3 separate regions of the Homo sapiens genome follow, and all the other regions are linked to region 1. The links are contacts of gene promoters, found by promoter capture Hi-C in human tissues and cell types (Jung and others, 2019). All regions are on one chromosome and are shown on one strand. Each heading gives the region's core, a stretch centred on a gene start or on the middle of the fragment in contact. The rest is flanking DNA. Distances are from core to core; before and after follow the strand shown. Region 1 holds the start of MIOX (myo-inositol oxygenase). Region 2 holds the start of TTLL8 (tubulin tyrosine ligase like 8). Region 3 overlaps MOV10L1 (Mov10 like RNA helicase 1).

Region 1 (5,158 bases), core at 2,441-4,940:
TCTCCCGGGTTCAAGCGATTCTCCTGCCTTAGCCTCCTGAATAGCTGGGATTACAGGCGCCCACCACCACGCCCGGCTAATTTTTGTATTTTTAGTAGAGACGGGGTTTCACCATGTTGGCCAGGCTGGTCTTGAACCCCTGACCTCAGGTGATCCGCCCACCTCGCCCTCCCAAAGTGCTGGGATTATAGGTGTGAGCCGCTGTGCCCAGCCTGCATTTGTTTTTTGTTGTTTTCTATGAATGTATTATTTTAGCTATTGGGGTATTTTTTAAGGGGACGGAGCCCAGAGGACTTGGTGACTGTTTTGAGCATGTGGGGGTGAGCTGGGTGACTCGTCCCCCAGGCTCTGACACAGGAGCTGGGAGGATGGGCAGATGTTTACCACGGCCAGTGTGGTGGGACACACACACCTGAAAGCCTGGGACTTGGCCTCCACCCTGCTGGCACCATCCCTCGGCCTGGGCCACGCCCTGCTGCAGTAACACCCAGTGGGGCTTCAGAAGCACAACATCCTTCCAGGTCTTTATTGACGCCAGGCACAAGTTGCCGTGAGGGGTGGCGACCCTAAGGGGGTGAGTGGGGTCCCCCACCGAGGTGAACCCTGATGGCGGCTGTTTGCCCAGGGCCAGGCCTCTCCAGGCAGGCGGAGGGCCAGGCCTAGGTCCAGCAGCAGCTTGGGTGGCAGGAGGGTCACCAGCTCAGGATGCCAGGGCAGTACTTGTCAATGAGCCCCTGGTAGTAGGGCCGCAGCTTGTCCACGTCCGGCAGGTCCGGGCACTTGGTGTAGAGGTCGAACTTGCTGCAGCAGGGAGGGGCGGTGAGCCCCGTGAAGAACCCCCAGGCCCCCCACCCAACCCCCTCTTTCACTCCCACAACACCCCTCGGCGGGTAGCGGGGCGTACTTGAACTCCCGCACCCAGGGCAGCATGGCCAGGTCCTGCTGGCTGCACAGCTGCTGGTAGTCGCGGCCCGTGTGCCAGGGGTAGAAGGAGTGGAACCGGATCATGTAGAAAGCCTGCGGGCAAGGCCACCCAGCGGCTCACTTGGGGCTGCAGGACCGGGCCTGGTGGACGGGCTGCGTTGCCCCTCCCCCCACCTACCTCAGGGGGCAGTGAGAACTTGTTAAACTTCATCACCTGGTACATGTACTCTGTGGGGAGAGGGTGTCACCAGCAGGCACTGCCTCTGCCCCACCGCCCCCCACCGTCCCCCACCGCCCCCCACCGCCCCACTGCCCGCCTCTGGCCTCACCATCATGGCCCCAGGACATGAGGACCCTGTCGAGCCCACAGTGGGGCTGATACATCCCGAGCTCTGTGCTGCAGTGAGATACCAGGGTGAGGAGGGCTCAGCAGCCGCCCAGGGAAGGGGGCCCAGCCCTCAGCAGCAGGGAGCACCTGTATCGAGGATCCTGGAGGTCAGGGTTGTCCTGGAAGGTGGAGTCGCAGAAAACCACGGAGGCCTGCGGACGGCATCCGACGGGGAAGGTGTCGCCGACGACAGCCCACTGCAGAGGGACAGGAGGGACGGGAGGCCATGGGGGGAGTGGGGGAAGGTGTCGCCGATGACCACCCACTGCAGAAGGACAGGAGGGACGGGCGGCCATGGGGGGAGTGGGGGAAGGTGTCACCGATGACTGCCCACTGCAGAGGGACAGGAGGGACGGGCGGCCATGGGGGGAGTGGGGGAAGATGTTGCCGATGACTGCCCACTGCAGAGGGACAGGAGGGATGGGAGGGACGGGAGGGACAGGAGGGACGGGAGGGATGGGAGGGACAGGAGGGACAGGAGGGACAGGCAGCCATGGGGGGCCGTGGGGGAAGTGGGGGAAGGTGTCGCCGACGACCGCCCACTGCAGAGTGACAGGAGGGACAGGCGGCCATGGGGGGCCGTGGGGGGAGTGGTGCGGGGAGGCCGTGGGGGGTGCACTGGCCTGTCCCCCAGGTAGTATCCCAGGCCAAGCACCGAGGCCACCAGAGGGACAGGCAGCCGTGGGGGGGGCCGTGGGGGGTGCACTGGCCTGTCCCCCAGGTAGTATCCCAGGCCAAGCACCGAGGCCACCAGAGGGACAGGCAGCCGTCGGGGGGCCGTGGGGGGTGCACTGGCCTGTCCCCCAGGTAGTATCCCAGGCCAAGCACCAAGGCCACTCCACCCCCACCTTGCCTCAACATGCAGCCTCCTCACCCTCCACTTCCAACTCTTACCTGGGGCTCCCCGAACAGGGCCAGGACCTTCCCCAGGTCGTGCAGGAGCCCGACGAGGTGGAACCAGTCTGGGAGGGGGATGGACAGGGCAGGTTGGGGACTGCAGGGGCCAAGGCAGAGGATGAGCAGGTTTGCGGGGCTGAGAGCCAGGAAGGGTCCAGGGCCTGCTCCCCAACCCAGGCAGGGCTGCTGGAGGAGGCCTGGGCCCACTACTGTCCCCTCCCACCCTACAGGCTGCTGCATTCTGCCCCTTGGAGGCAGCACCTGCCCCCCTGCAGCACAGCCAGGGCTCACCCTTGTCTGGGTGGGCCTTCCGGATGCCCTCCGCTGTCTGGAAGGCATGGAAGGAGTTGGGGAAATCTACGTCCGGGTCCGACTCATCCACCAGCCCATCCAGCAGGTCCACGGCCTCCATGACTGTCATTTTCTTGTAGGAGAAGCCCCCAAACTGGGCATGCTGGCGGGGAAGGAGAAGGCAGTGTGGCCCAGGGTCAGCAGGCCCACCACACAGGCCTCTCCATCCCCTCGGCGCCTGGTGGGCTCATGGGGCTGAGGGCAAGGGTCCCTCCGCGTTTGCACGGGGCGGCAGGAAACGCCTACCTTGCTCCTGACGAAGTCCACTGTCTGGTGCGTGTGCATGAGCTTGTAGGTGGTGAAGACACGGTCCAGGAGGGGACCTGACTGCAGGCCGGAGGGTCAGTGGCGCCACCCCCACCCTGCACACGAGGCCCCATGCCTCCCCTCTCCCAGGCAGCCCCACAGGGTGTGATGGGGGTGGGAGTTCCCACAGGGCACCCCCTGGAACTGTGTGAAGGGCAAGTGCTGCTCCCCAGGGTGTGGATGGGGGAGAAGGGGGGCAGGACGGCAAGGTACTCACCGTGTAGTTCCGGAAGCTGGCCTTGTCTTTGGCCACCTCTGGGTCCACATCAGGTCGGTAGACCAGGGAAGGGTCTGGGCCCTGGGTAGGTGGAGGATTGAACCTATTTCACCATCATGTCAGCTCCACGAGGAAGCACAGACATTCCCAGGGTGGCTGCAGACTCCAAGCCTGCCTCTGCTCGAGGGCTGGTGGGTGACACGCGAGGACACAGCCTCTCCCACGCCATCATCCCAGCCCCTGCCCTGGCCTCAGCGAGTCCCAGGAGCTCTCACTCCCAGGTCCTCATCTGCAAAGCGAAAGTCAGCAGACGTCTGCTTCCGGGGTACAGGGGACACCACGCCTGAGCGGCACCCATGGCCACCCTTGAGGGGTGGAAGTGGCTTTGGGAGGAGACTGAGTCCACAGGGAGCCTGGGGGTCGGCAGCCGCTGGCTCTTGCCCAGCTGGACGGAGGAGGAGGGCTGGCCAGTGCCAGCTAGAAGAGGGCGGGAGTGGCTGGCCACCAGGAGAGCAGTCAGCAGAGCCTCTCTGCATGGGGTCTGGGTACTCACCACCGTCACCTTCATCCTGAGAGGGAGCGGCGCTCAGGTGGCAAAGCACAGGCTGGCGAGTGTGTCCTCAGCCAGGCTCCTATATACACCCCAGGTTACATAAGTGTCCGCAGTAATAAATGACCATCCACCCTCCTCCCGGCCTCAGGGAGTTAATGTGTCAGCACAGCAGCAGCCCCCAGCAGTCCCACATCCTCTGGCCCTGACTCAGCCTCACACTCCTGTCCCGAGCCGCTGACCTGCCTAGGGTTATCTGTGGGCCCAGCCTCCCACTTGGGCCCTGGCCTTAGACCCCTCTGTGGGGTCCCACAAGTAGGGGCAGACCCAAGACCCCACCCTCAAGCACACGCCCCCTCTGCACCACCCCTTCCCCGGCTGCCCCACTGGATCTCAGGAGGTGAAAACTTGTCCCCAGGCCCCCCGTGATTCTGGGTGGGGCAGGAGCTTGTTAAGAAAAGATGATTCTGAGGACTTGTTAAAATGGTGAGAAAAGCTTTATTCAAGAGAGTGGTGAGAGGAGCTCACCTCCGAGTTCAACAACCACAGCTGGAGATTGATGGCGTTGGAGGGGTCAGCGGATGGGAAGTTGTTAGGGCGGCCTTCGAGGGTAGGGGGATTCTCACTGGAGTGGCTCAATGAGGATCTTGCAGGAGGCCGGCAGGGTGATGAGATCAAGGGTGGGAGATGAGGAATGGGATCAGATATCGAGGGTGGGTAATTCTCCATAAACTGATTTAGAGGATTCTTGCTAACACCGGGGTCGGCGGGCCCAGCGAGGATGGGGATGGGGTCAGGCCTCGTCGAGGAAAGGACTCAGGGGCACCTGCCTAGAGTTCGGCCACAGAGTGTGTCAGGCTCTGGGAGAGGGGCCTCACGGAGAGTTGGAGCAGGCACGGAACCGCCAACACCCAGGCCGCCAACGCAACTTCCCATGCATGGGCCCTGCAGGCATGGAGGACACCGTGAGAACAAAGTGCCCGCGGCAGAGCTGGCGTCTTGGAGCGTGGCCAGGGAAGTCTGGGAACAGCAGTCGGCTGGGGCAGGAGAGAGGGCAGTGGGGTGCTGGGGCCATACCTAGGGCTGTGAAGATCAGAGTTCTGGGCTTCAGGGGTCAGGCAAGAGGGCTGTGGGCAGCTGACCTGACTCAACAAGATCCTGGCACAGCTGAGCTGAGAAGCAACTGTGAGGAGACCCCAGCGCCCCCCATTTAAACGGCACCTGCCCCACACTCTCCTTCCTTGTCTGACTTCCTGTGGCACTCAGCACTCCCTGCCACTCCACCACCCACTTATTCTACCTTCTACGTTTGTCTCCTTCTATCTCCCCCTAGAATGTCAGCCCCTGGGGGTCAAGGCTGTATCCTCACGTGTCCCAACACGGGTAGGTCACGTGCTCAGCATGCACTGGCCAGAGGGATGCAGACAGGTGCCTGGGAGGAGGCTACGGCCATCGCCCCGAAAGCAGGTGGTGCCTGGGTCAGGAGAAGGTGTCTGGATAGGTTCAGGAGGTGGGACCGGGTGGG
Region 2 (5,158 bases), core at 1,681-4,180, 430 kb after region 1:
AGTGGGCTCTCTGGACCTGACCAGACTGTGGGTCCCTGCGTCTCCTGCCCACTCTGACCGGGCTTCCTCCCTCCACGCTTAGGGTCTGTCCCGGGTACTCAGTCAGCCCAGTGGGATCTTACCCACTTCCCTGCAAGGTGCACCTGCCCCAGGCTCAGGCTGCCCAGCGGCTCTTCCTGGACAGTGAGAGCAGGGCTGGGCGCCTCTGTCCTGGCCCGGGAGCCGCAGGGGCCCCTCCTCCAGAGCCTGGGCGCAAGCGACACAGGCTGCCGCTGCTCTCCCAGGTGAAATCCACACCAGTCCACGCCGGGTCGCCTGCCCTGTCTCCCTACTTAGACCCAGTCATTCTAGAGGGATCCACCGCCACACTGGCCGGCCCACGTCCTGGGTGCTGTCATGCCCAGCTTGGAGTGCCACGTGGCCGCTGCCCACGTCCCGGGCACTGTCATGCCCAGCTTGGAGTGCCACATGGCCGCTGCCCACGTCCCGGGCACTGTCATGCCCAGCTTGGAGTGCCACGTGGCCGCTGCTGTGACAGGCAGTGTTCTTGGGGGTGGGGCTGCATCCAAGGCTTTGTAAACCGGCTGGACCACGTCTCCCTGGCCCCAGTGACCGGGGGAAGCTGAGCCCCTCCCTCCTGTGTTTGCTCCCATTACTCAAAATGCAGGACAGATCAGGTCAGAGCCCAGGAATTCTCACAGGTTCACCCAGCGCCCTCTACCTCCTAGCAAGTACTTTGTCTTGATCCTCACTGAGAAGGCCCCAGGGCAGCGGTCTTCTCCATCTCCGCTGTTTTGGGGTCTTAGGGTACAGCCCAGGCGGTCACTGCCCACCTGCCAGGCTGCAGGGACAGTTGGGTGTGAGAATAACACTGGCTTTGGGTAGTGCCATGGCCAGGAGTGGGTTTCCCTGCGTCTCCTCGTCCCGAGGGCGCCTGGGTCCTCCCAGCTGACGGCAGTAAATCCACAGTGAGTTGGGGCGACTGTGAAACTGGAATGCTGTTACTTTGATAATTACTTTCCAGCAGGTGTTTTCCTTCACAATGGTTTTGTTTCTTTCCTTCTGATCTGAGAAGACATGAACGTTTTCTCTTCACCGCCGTGGGGTGTATTGACTGGTCCCCCATGGGCTGCTGGAAAGGCCCGGAGATGCATCTGTGGCCTGGGGCCATCAAGATCAAAGAACCAGGAGGCCTGGGAGATGCAGCTGGATGGGGCGGCCTGCAGACCCTGCCAGGGGGTTTGAGGACCCTCCCAGGTTTCCCACTGCGGAACAGGAGTGACTCTGGCTGCCAAGATACCTTCATGGTGTTCATGACAAGTGGAATCATTATTTTCAACCATTGAAGGGGGATGCAGGCAAGACACCTTCCCAGCTGCTCCTAGAGGGGACAAGCCAGGCCCTCTCTGCAGTCCTCGGCAGCTCCGGAAGGACACAGTCAGGGGCCGGGCAAACACTTTGGCCACAGCCCCAAACAAGCGCCACCGTGGGAGAGGAGAGGCTGCTGTCACTGGTACCGGATGCAGACCCCACCCTGTCTGCAGGCCACCCCCACCTCCCTGCAGCTTTGAGGCTGGCGGGGTCTGCTCCTGGGAATGGGGTGGGAGCCACAGGGACGACCCGGGGCGGGCTGATGTCTTCTTGGGGGCAGACCAGAGAGCTCAAGTTTCAGAGTCAGAATTAGGCACTTGGAGCGTTTTTGCTGGCTTGCACTTTCTTATTTTCTTATTTTAGAGCGCTTAAAAAATCCGGAAAAATGGGGTTTAAAAGAACTGTCTCTTTCAGTCTACATTTTTGTTTAATACGCTTGAGCAATAAACGCTGACTTGCAGACGTGGCTGTGGCTATTTAATATTGTGTCTCAGCAGCGTCAGCTCACTCAGGTCTAAAAACATCGGGACACAGGGAGGAGGGGCGGGTGGAGGGAGGGCCAGCTTTTCACTCACTGATTTGTGTAACCCCTAGAGGCCAGTACTGGGGTCTGGTGAGAGCCCAGTGGCATTCCCCGGGGAAGAGGGAGGGAGCTGGAAGGGAACCACCCCCGCCAGGGGACGCTCCCACTCCCCCCCTTCAAGTCCCCCACCAGCCCCTTCAGAGTCGGGGCAGAACCTCCCTTTTGGGGTGTCTTGGGAAGTTAAATGCAAAATAAAGTTGATTTAAAACCAAATGAAGACATCTAGGCTTTGGAAAGTTGCCAGGAGTGAGGGTCCTGGTGGGGCAGGTGTGTCTTTCCTACCCCCACTCCGAGATGCCAGATCAGACACGAGCTGCCCTGGCGGGGTGATCCGCGGGGTGCGGGGGGAAACGACAGGGGCCGTGTGGACCTGGGTGGGCTCAGAACCCCCCGGGGGGCAGCGGCGTGGGACCCCACGAGTGGTTCTGCGGATACCAAGGCCCTCCCAAGTTCCGCCGCAGGACGGGGGGCGCTGATACGGTCACCCCGTCGCCCCCATCCGCCAGGACCCGCAGCGCGCAGCCCGGGAGGAGCCCAGCGCCCGCGGCCTCCTCACCCCGCCGCTCCAGCCTCGCGTCGGGGAAGGGCCCAGGGACAGAGGGCGGCATGAGGGCCCCGGGGAGGGCGAGAAGGCCTGGCGGGCCTGGGGGGCCCGAGGGGGAGGGGCAGGATGTGACCCGCGGGTCTTTGTGACCTGGTGGGGGATGGAGTGTGACCTCCACAGGGGGGCGCGGGGCCGCAGCGCGTGACCCGGGGCTACACTCGGGCCCTCCCCCGGCGGACACCATGGCGCGCACCGTCCCGCGCCGCCGACCCCGCAGCCGCGCCTGCTCCGACAGCAGCCCGGGACCCGGACCCCAACCCGGGCCCAGCCCAAGCGCTGATGACTGCTGCCCGTCGGGGCCCGCGCCCCCCGCACGCCGCAGCTCCCCGCGCCCCCGCGCCCCCCGCCGCCCGCGCAGCCCCACGCCCCGGGGCCGCCGCCGCTGCACAGCCCGAGGCCACGGGCCCAGCAGCCGCCGCACCGGGGGTGCACAATGCGCGTGGCCGCCCCAGCACGTTGTCCCAGGCAACCCCAGGAAGCCGGGCGGCGCAGCGCGAGCCACTGACCCGGTCCCCGGTGAGCACGACCCCCGACCGCGGAACCCCAGGCCCGTCCGCGCTTCCGATCCCGGACAGGACCCCTCCTCCCCATCTGCCTTCGGAACCCCAGACCCGCCTCCCACACCCGGAAACCCAGGCCTACCCCCTCCCCGCCCCGGGCCTCCAAATTCTAGACCCCTTACCCTAGGAATCCCAGACCCGCCTAGCTCGGAACCACAGAACTCCCCCACTAAACCTGCCCAACTCTACCCACTCGCCCGCCCTCGAAAGCCCAGAGCTGTTCTCCCCACCTTCCCCCATCTTCTGGGAACTCCACAGCTGTCCACTCCCCTCTGCCTTCAGAACCCCATACCTCTCCTCATTAACCTAGACCTGCACCCCCAACCCAGACCTCCCCCTCGACCTAGACCTGATCCCCAATTGAGACCTGATGCCCACAACCCAGACCTGACCCCCAACCCAGACCTGACCCCGACCCAGACCTGACCCCAAAAACCCAGACCTGATCTCCCAACCCAGACCTGACCCCAACCCAGACCTGACCCCCAACCCAGACCTCCCGCTCAACCCAAACCTGACCCTCAACCCAGACCTGACCCCAACCCAGACCTGACCCCCAACCCAGACCTCCCGCTCAACCCAGACCTGACCCCCCAACCCAGACCTGACCCCAACCCAGACCTGACCCACAATCCAGACCTGATCCCCCAACCCAGACCTGACCCCCAACCCAGACCTGACCCCCAACCCAGACCTCCCGCCCAACCCAGACCTGACCCCAACCCAGACCTGATCCCCCAACCCAGACCTGACTCACAACCCAGACCTGACTCACAACCCAGACCTGACACCAAACCCAGTCCTGACCCCCAAACCCAGACCTGACCCCCAAGCCCAGACCTGACCCCAACCTAGAACTGATCCCTCAACCCAGACCTGATCCCCAACCCCAGAGCTGACCCCTAATCCAGACCTGACCCCCAACCCCAGACCTGACTCCCATCCCCAGACCTGACCCCAACTCAGACCTGACCTCCCAACTCCAGACCTCATCCCCCAACCCAGACCTGATCCCAACCCCAGAGCTGATCCCCAACCCCAGACCTGACCCTCAGCTTGGGCCTCAGAACCCTCTCCATCCCCAGAGCCCCCCACACCCTCCCAGTTTCCTGTAACCACCACACCCTCTCCTCTAGGGGTCAGAGGAGCAAAGGGCAAGCTGTCGGAGGCCAGTATGGAACCAGAGAGGAAGGGGCTATCGTTGGCTTCTTCTTCAGATGGAGACGGGAGAGAAGAAAATAGTGGGTATCGTGTATTGCCTGTGTGCCAGCCACTCGCCCAGAGTGGCCCGGGCTCAGAGGCAGTGCTGGCTGCAGCCTGCTGCCAGGAAATCAGGGACTCTGGGGGCAGGCACTTCACTGAGCTGCAGAACCAGGCGCCTTCTCTTGGACGGTCCAGGCGGAGGACCCCAGGGGTGTTGGGGGGCGCTGGCTCCTGCCTCCTGTACCCCGATCCCACTGGCCAGCTTCCTGGGAAACTGGGAAATTAAACGTGTGGGTGTGGAGGGCTCTCCTGGCGGGTCGTGGAGGCCCTGCACTCGCCTCTCTCTTCCTTCCTGCCCTTGCCCTCTTCAGACTCGTCTTCGTTGCGTGGGTAAATGCTCCCTAGGAGTCAAATGACTGGGTTACATGGCAGGCGCATACTTAGCTTTAGAAGGTCCCCCAACCGTTTAAGGGCCAGATCGAGAGCTCCGGTGCCCCCGCCCCCGTCCCCACCCGCAGTGGGTGTCCTCGCTGCCATTTCAGGCACTCGGGTGTGTGGTTTTAATTTGCATTTCCAGACAGCTCAAGGTGTTGAACTGTTTTTCACATGATTATTGGCCATTTGGAGCTCTTCCTTCTCGGAGTGCGGTTCCGGGACTGCAGGCCGCGGTTAAATCGCGCTATGGCCTCATGGACTTGCAGGAATTCTCTGTATGTCCTGGATACATGCTCTTTGTCAGATGGATGTGGCCTTGTCAGTCACTTCATGCTTCCTTTTGATAATCAGAACTTCTTAATTTAATTTTATTTTATTTATGTTCTTTGAGACGGCGCTGGT
Region 3 (5,158 bases), core at 1,799-4,298, 390 kb after region 1:
TGAGGTCAAGAGTTCGAGACCAGCCTGACCAACATGGCGAAACCCCGTGTCTACTAAAAATACAAAAATTAGCCAGGTGTGGTGGCACACAGCTGTAGTCCCAGCTACTCAGGAAGCTGAGGCAAGAGAATTGCTTGAATCCAGGAGGTGGAGGTTACAGTGAGCCACCACTGCACTCGAGCCTGGGCAACAAGAGCGAAACTCTGTCTCAAACAAAGAAAAAAAAAACAAAACCCACAAAAGGTCAGGCGCAGTGGCTCATGCCTGTAATCCCAGCACTTTGGCAGGTGGATCACAAGGTCAGGAGATCGAGACCATCCTGGCTAACACATTGAAACCCCGTCTCTACTAAAAATACAAAAAATTAGCCAGGTGTGGTGGCGGGCACCTGTAGTCCCAGCTATTCAGGAGGCTGAGGCAGGAGAATGGCATGAACCTGGAAGGCGGAGCTTGAAGTAAGCCAAGATTGTGCTACTGTACTCCAGCCTGGGAAACAGAGGAAGATTCCGTCTCAAAACAAAAACAAAAACACACATACACATAAAAACCAAGGTGAAAAAGAGTGAGACAGCAGCTTCCTGGTGGGCAGAGCTACCCCCCAGACCTCCCACCCCCCAGCTTAAAGCAGAAAACTTCTATTCATCTTCCAACAGGCAGTGCTGTGGGCTGTGCAAATGGACTTCAGCTCAGAAGCCACTTCCCCAGGCAGCTTTTCCAATTCCTGCCCTACCACAATGTATGCACAGGTCTGTTTCTCCTGGGAAAGAAGAAACAGACCTGAGTATGGAGTCCAGCTCCGTCTTCACCACCATAGGCAGCAGGAGTAGAGTAAACCGCTGCTGAGTTCAGCTCAGTCAATGACATCGACATATTCTTTCTTTAGGTATAAAAACAAATCCTTTGATCAGCCAAAAACAAATGCAATAAAAAATGGATATATAAAGCCGGGAGTGGTGGCTCACGCCTGTAATCCCAGCACTTTGGGAGGCCAAGGCGGGCAGATCACAAGGTCAGGAGTTCAAGACCAGACTGGCCAACATGGTGAAACCCTGTCTCTACTAAAGACACAAAAAGTTAGCCTGCTGTGGTGGTGGGCACCTGTAGTCTCAGGAGGCTGAGGCAGGAGAATCGCCTGAACCCAGGAGGCGGAGGTTGCAGTAAGCTGAGATCGTGCCACTGCACTCCAGCCTGGGCGACAGGGTGAGACTCCATCTCAAAAAAAAGAAAGAAAGAAAGAAAGAAAAAGGATATATACTTTAGGAAACGTACAATGTCATCCCCAAGCCCTATTTTAAAACATCTAAAGTACTTTAAATAGTACCTCAGCATGCCAGTAACACTAACTTAGATCATAACACTATAATTATATGGAAGCAACAACTACCCAGAAATTACTGACTGCATTTAACAAATGAACACAAAACACATAAAAGCACAAGTTTAAACAGTGACCTGGCTGGGTGTGGTGGCTCATGCCTGTAATCCCAGCACTTTAGGAGGCCGAGGCAGGTGGATCACCTAAGGTCAAGAGTTCGAGACCAGCCCGGCCAACCTGATGAAACCCCATCTTTACTAAAAATACAAAAAATTAGCTGGGCATGGTGGTGCACACCTGTAATCCCAGCTACTCAGGAGGCTGAGGCAGGAGAATCAATCAAACCCAGGAAGCAGAGGTTGCAGTGAGCTGAGATCATACCACTGCACTCCAGCCTGGGCAACAGAGTGAGACTCCATCTCGAAAAACAAAAACAAAAACAAAAACAAAAAAAACAAAACAGTGACCTGGTGCCCTCTCCCATAGTCCACTCAATATCCAAGAGCCTCTGTGTGAAGCCAGCACCTGGAGAAGCTACTCTAATCCCGAAACCCTCTCAACAAACAAAGCATGCCCAAAACTGATCCCTTCAATGTTGTGTGTAGCCATCACAAATATAGACACAGGGTTGTGTTCTGTCACCCAGGCTGGAGTGTAGTGGCTGGATCATAGCTCACTGCAGCCTCCAACTCCTGGGCTCAAGCGATCCTCCTGTCTCAGCCTGACAAAGTGCTGGGATTATAGGCATGAGCCACCGTGCCTGGTCCATAACAATTCTTTAAAAGACAAAACCTAATTTTCAATGTGGAACACAGACCCCTGAGCATACCTTCGCACACACTCTCCAGAGAGAAGTAGGTGGTCTGACTGATACAGCCTGCGCCCTCCACCAGGGAAGTCACACAGCCAATCAACACTCGGGGGCCGCAGTCTGAGGGACTCCCATGGTTTCTGCTGTCGTCTTCCCACTTATCAGAGACAGCTTCTACCTGTAAAACAAACACACCGCTCTAAACCATAATACGAGAACTACAAGAAAAGCAAACTACAGGCTGGCATGCCTGTCTGAGACCATTAGGGCTGCAAGTCCAAGATCAAGGCCCTGGCAGATTCCGGGTCTGGTGAGGGCCTTCTTCCTGGTATACCGTCGGTGTCTTCCTGCTGTGTCCTCACATGGCAGAAAGGGCAAAGGGGTTCTCTGGGGTATGTTTCATAAGGGCTCTGCCCTTGTGACCCAGTCACCCACCAAAGCCTCCTAATAAGATTCCACTGGGGTCAGGATTTCAACATACGTATTTTGGGGGACACCAACATTGAGTCTATAGCAATCCCTTATGAACACTGATGCAAAAATCCTCAATGAAATATTATCAAACCAAATGCAGCAGCATATTAAAAGGATTATACCCCATGACTAAGTGGGGTTTATCCCAGAATGCAAAAGTGTTTCAACATATGAAAATCAGTCAACATATTACATTGATAAGATGAGGGAAAAAATCACGATGATCTCAACTGATGCACAAAAAGCATTTGACAAAATCAACACTTTTTATGATGCAAACACTCAATAAACTAGGAATCGCAGGAAATCTCTTCAACACGAGAAAGGCCATAAACAAAAATCTCACAACAAACACCACACTCAATGGTGAAAGGCCGAAAGCTTTCCCCTAAGATCAGGAACCAGGCAAGGATGCCCATGCTTACTTCAAGACTTTCAAATTTCAATTATCTTTATTCACAGATGGTAGGATCTCATCTGTGGAAAACTCTAAAGATTCCACACACGTAAATGAAACAAAAAATGGTTAGAGCTAATAAATGAATCCAGCACAGGACACAAAGTCAACATACAAAAATCAGATTTCCATACATTTGCAATGAAAAATCCAAAAAGGAAATCAAGAAAAATGATCCAAAGAAAGGGAAAACAATTCCATTTATAACAGCACTGTTAGGTTAATAGGTTAATTCCTCAGAACACTTAGTAACCTAACTAAGGAGATGGAAGACACGTAAAATGACACTAATGAATGAATTAAATACCTCAATAAACAGCAAGACAACCGCGTTCATGAATTGGAAAACCTAATATTATTAAAATGACAATCTTAAGACTTAATTATTAAGATGATAATACTACTCAAAGTGATTATGTGATTATTAAGATGTTAATCTTAATAATTATTATTAAGATGTTAATCTTAATACTTAATTATTATTAAGATGACAATCTTAGACTTAATTATTAAGATGACAATACTACCCAAAGTGATCTATTACACAAATTCAGGTTGGGTGTGGTAGCTCATGCCTGTAATTCCAGCACTTTGGGAGGTTGAGGCAGGTGGATCACTTGAGGTCAGGAGTTCAAGACCAGCCTGGTCAACATGGTGAAACCCCATCTCTACTAAAAATACAAAAAAAATTAGCTGGGTGTAGTGGCAAGCACCTGCAGTCCCAGCTACTTGGGAGGCTGAGGCATGAGAATTGCTTGAACCAGGGAGGCGGAGGTTGCAATGAGTCAATATCACATCATTGCACTCCATCCTGGGTGACAGAGCAAGACTCTGTCTCAAACAAACAACAAAAAAACCCAACAAATGCAACGCAATCCCTATCAAAGTCCTATGGGTCTATTTTTATATAAATAGAAAAACTCATCTAAAATTCTAATGGAATCTCAAGGGACCATGAATAGGCAAAATGGTCTTGAAAAGGAGTAACAAAATTGAAGGTTTCATACCTCCTGATTTCAAAACTTCCTACAAAGTTACAGTCATCAAACTAGTGTGGCACCAGTGTAAGGACAGAAATATAAACCAATGGAATAGTAAAGAGACCCAGAAATAAACCCTTGCATGTGCAGTCAATTGATTTTTGACAAGGACCATTCAATAAACTGCAATTGTGCAGTCTCAAAAAAAAATAGTGCTGGGAAAATAACCATGGGCAAAATAATAAAGTTAGACTCTCGTTTTACACCAAACACAAAAATTAACTCAAAATGGATTAAAGAGGCCAGGCGTGGTGGCTTACCCCTATAATCTCAGCATTTGGAAAGGCGTGGGATGGGCGGATCACTTGAGCCCAGGAGTTCGAGACCAGCCTGGGCAACATAGAGAGGCCCCATCTCTACAAAAAATACAAAAATTGGGTGAGGCAGCACACACCTGTAGTCCCAGCTGCTCAGGTGGCTAAGGTGGAAGGATCACTTCAGCCTGGGAGGTTGAGGCTGCAGTGAGCTGTGACTGTGCTGCTGCACTCCAGCCTGGGCAACAAAGTGAGATCCTGTCTCAAAAAATTTTTTTTAATGAATCAAAGACTTTAATTTAAAAGCAAAAACTATAAAACTCTTGGTAGAAAAAAATCTTCATAATCTTGGATTAGTCAATGGTATCTTGAGTGTGACATCAGAAGTACATGCAATAAAAGAGACAAATTAGACTTCCACCAAAATTTAAAACATCTGTGCATCAAAGGATACCATGAAGAAAGTGAAAAGACAATTGATAAAATGAGAGAAAGTATTTGCAAATCATGTATGTGATGAGAGATTAATATCCAGAATATATAAAGAATTCCTACTACAAGAAAACAACCTAATTTCAAAACGGGCAAAGGATTTGAGTAGATATTTCTCCAAAGAAGATATATAGATGGCCAATAAGCACATGAAAAGATGCCCTCACAAATCATTAGGGAAATGCAAATCAAAACCACAGTGAGATACTACCTCACAACTACGAGGAATAGCTACTGTCAAAAGAAAAAAAAAGAAAAAGAAAATAGCAAGTGTTGGCAAGGATACAGAAAAAGTGGCAGCCTCATGCACTGTTG

Evidence for each region. Contacts are between HindIII fragments. The study calls those that stand out against the background at their distance.
Region 2: a contact is called between the fragment with the promoter of TTLL8 here and the fragment with the promoter of MIOX in region 1, in 2 of the 25 tissues and cell types used here (lymphoblastoid cells and mesendoderm cells).
Region 3: a contact is called between a fragment that was not itself captured here and the fragment with the promoter of MIOX in region 1, in 2 of the 25 tissues and cell types used here (lymphoblastoid cells and spleen).

The regions. Positions count from the first base shown.
Region 1 is chr22:50,485,391-50,490,548 of GRCh38, reverse strand. MIOX (myo-inositol oxygenase) reads right to left here and starts at 3,690. Exons shown (of 10, transcript NM_017584.6): 1 at 3,637-3,690; 2 at 3,084-3,164; 3 at 2,807-2,887; 4 at 2,501-2,663; 5 at 2,207-2,274; 6 at 1,400-1,509; 7 at 1,254-1,321; 8 at 1,103-1,152; 9 at 905-1,017; 10 at 1-801. The coding sequence starts at 3,651. The coding sequence ends at 693. It overlaps ADM2 (adrenomedullin 2), which reads right to left. Exons shown (of 3, transcript NM_001253845.2): 3 at 4,112-5,158. The HindIII fragment of the contact is 6,574 bases long and covers 1-4,680 here.
Region 2 is chr22:50,056,070-50,061,227 of GRCh38, reverse strand. TTLL8 (tubulin tyrosine ligase like 8) reads left to right here and starts at 2,930. Exons shown (of 14, transcript NM_001350317.3): 1 at 2,930-3,074; 2 at 4,255-4,359. The coding sequence starts at 4,293. It overlaps MLC1 (modulator of VRAC current 1), which reads left to right. Exons shown (of 12, transcript NM_015166.4): 12 at 1-1,837. The HindIII fragment of the contact is 29,458 bases long and covers 1-5,158 here.
Region 3 is chr22:50,096,589-50,101,746 of GRCh38, reverse strand. It overlaps MOV10L1 (Mov10 like RNA helicase 1), which reads right to left. Exons shown (of 27, transcript NM_018995.3): 3 at 2,145-2,304. Among named protein-coding and RNA genes, the nearest start is that of MOV10L1, 9.2 kb to the right of the region's middle. The HindIII fragment of the contact is 9,728 bases long and covers 1-5,158 here.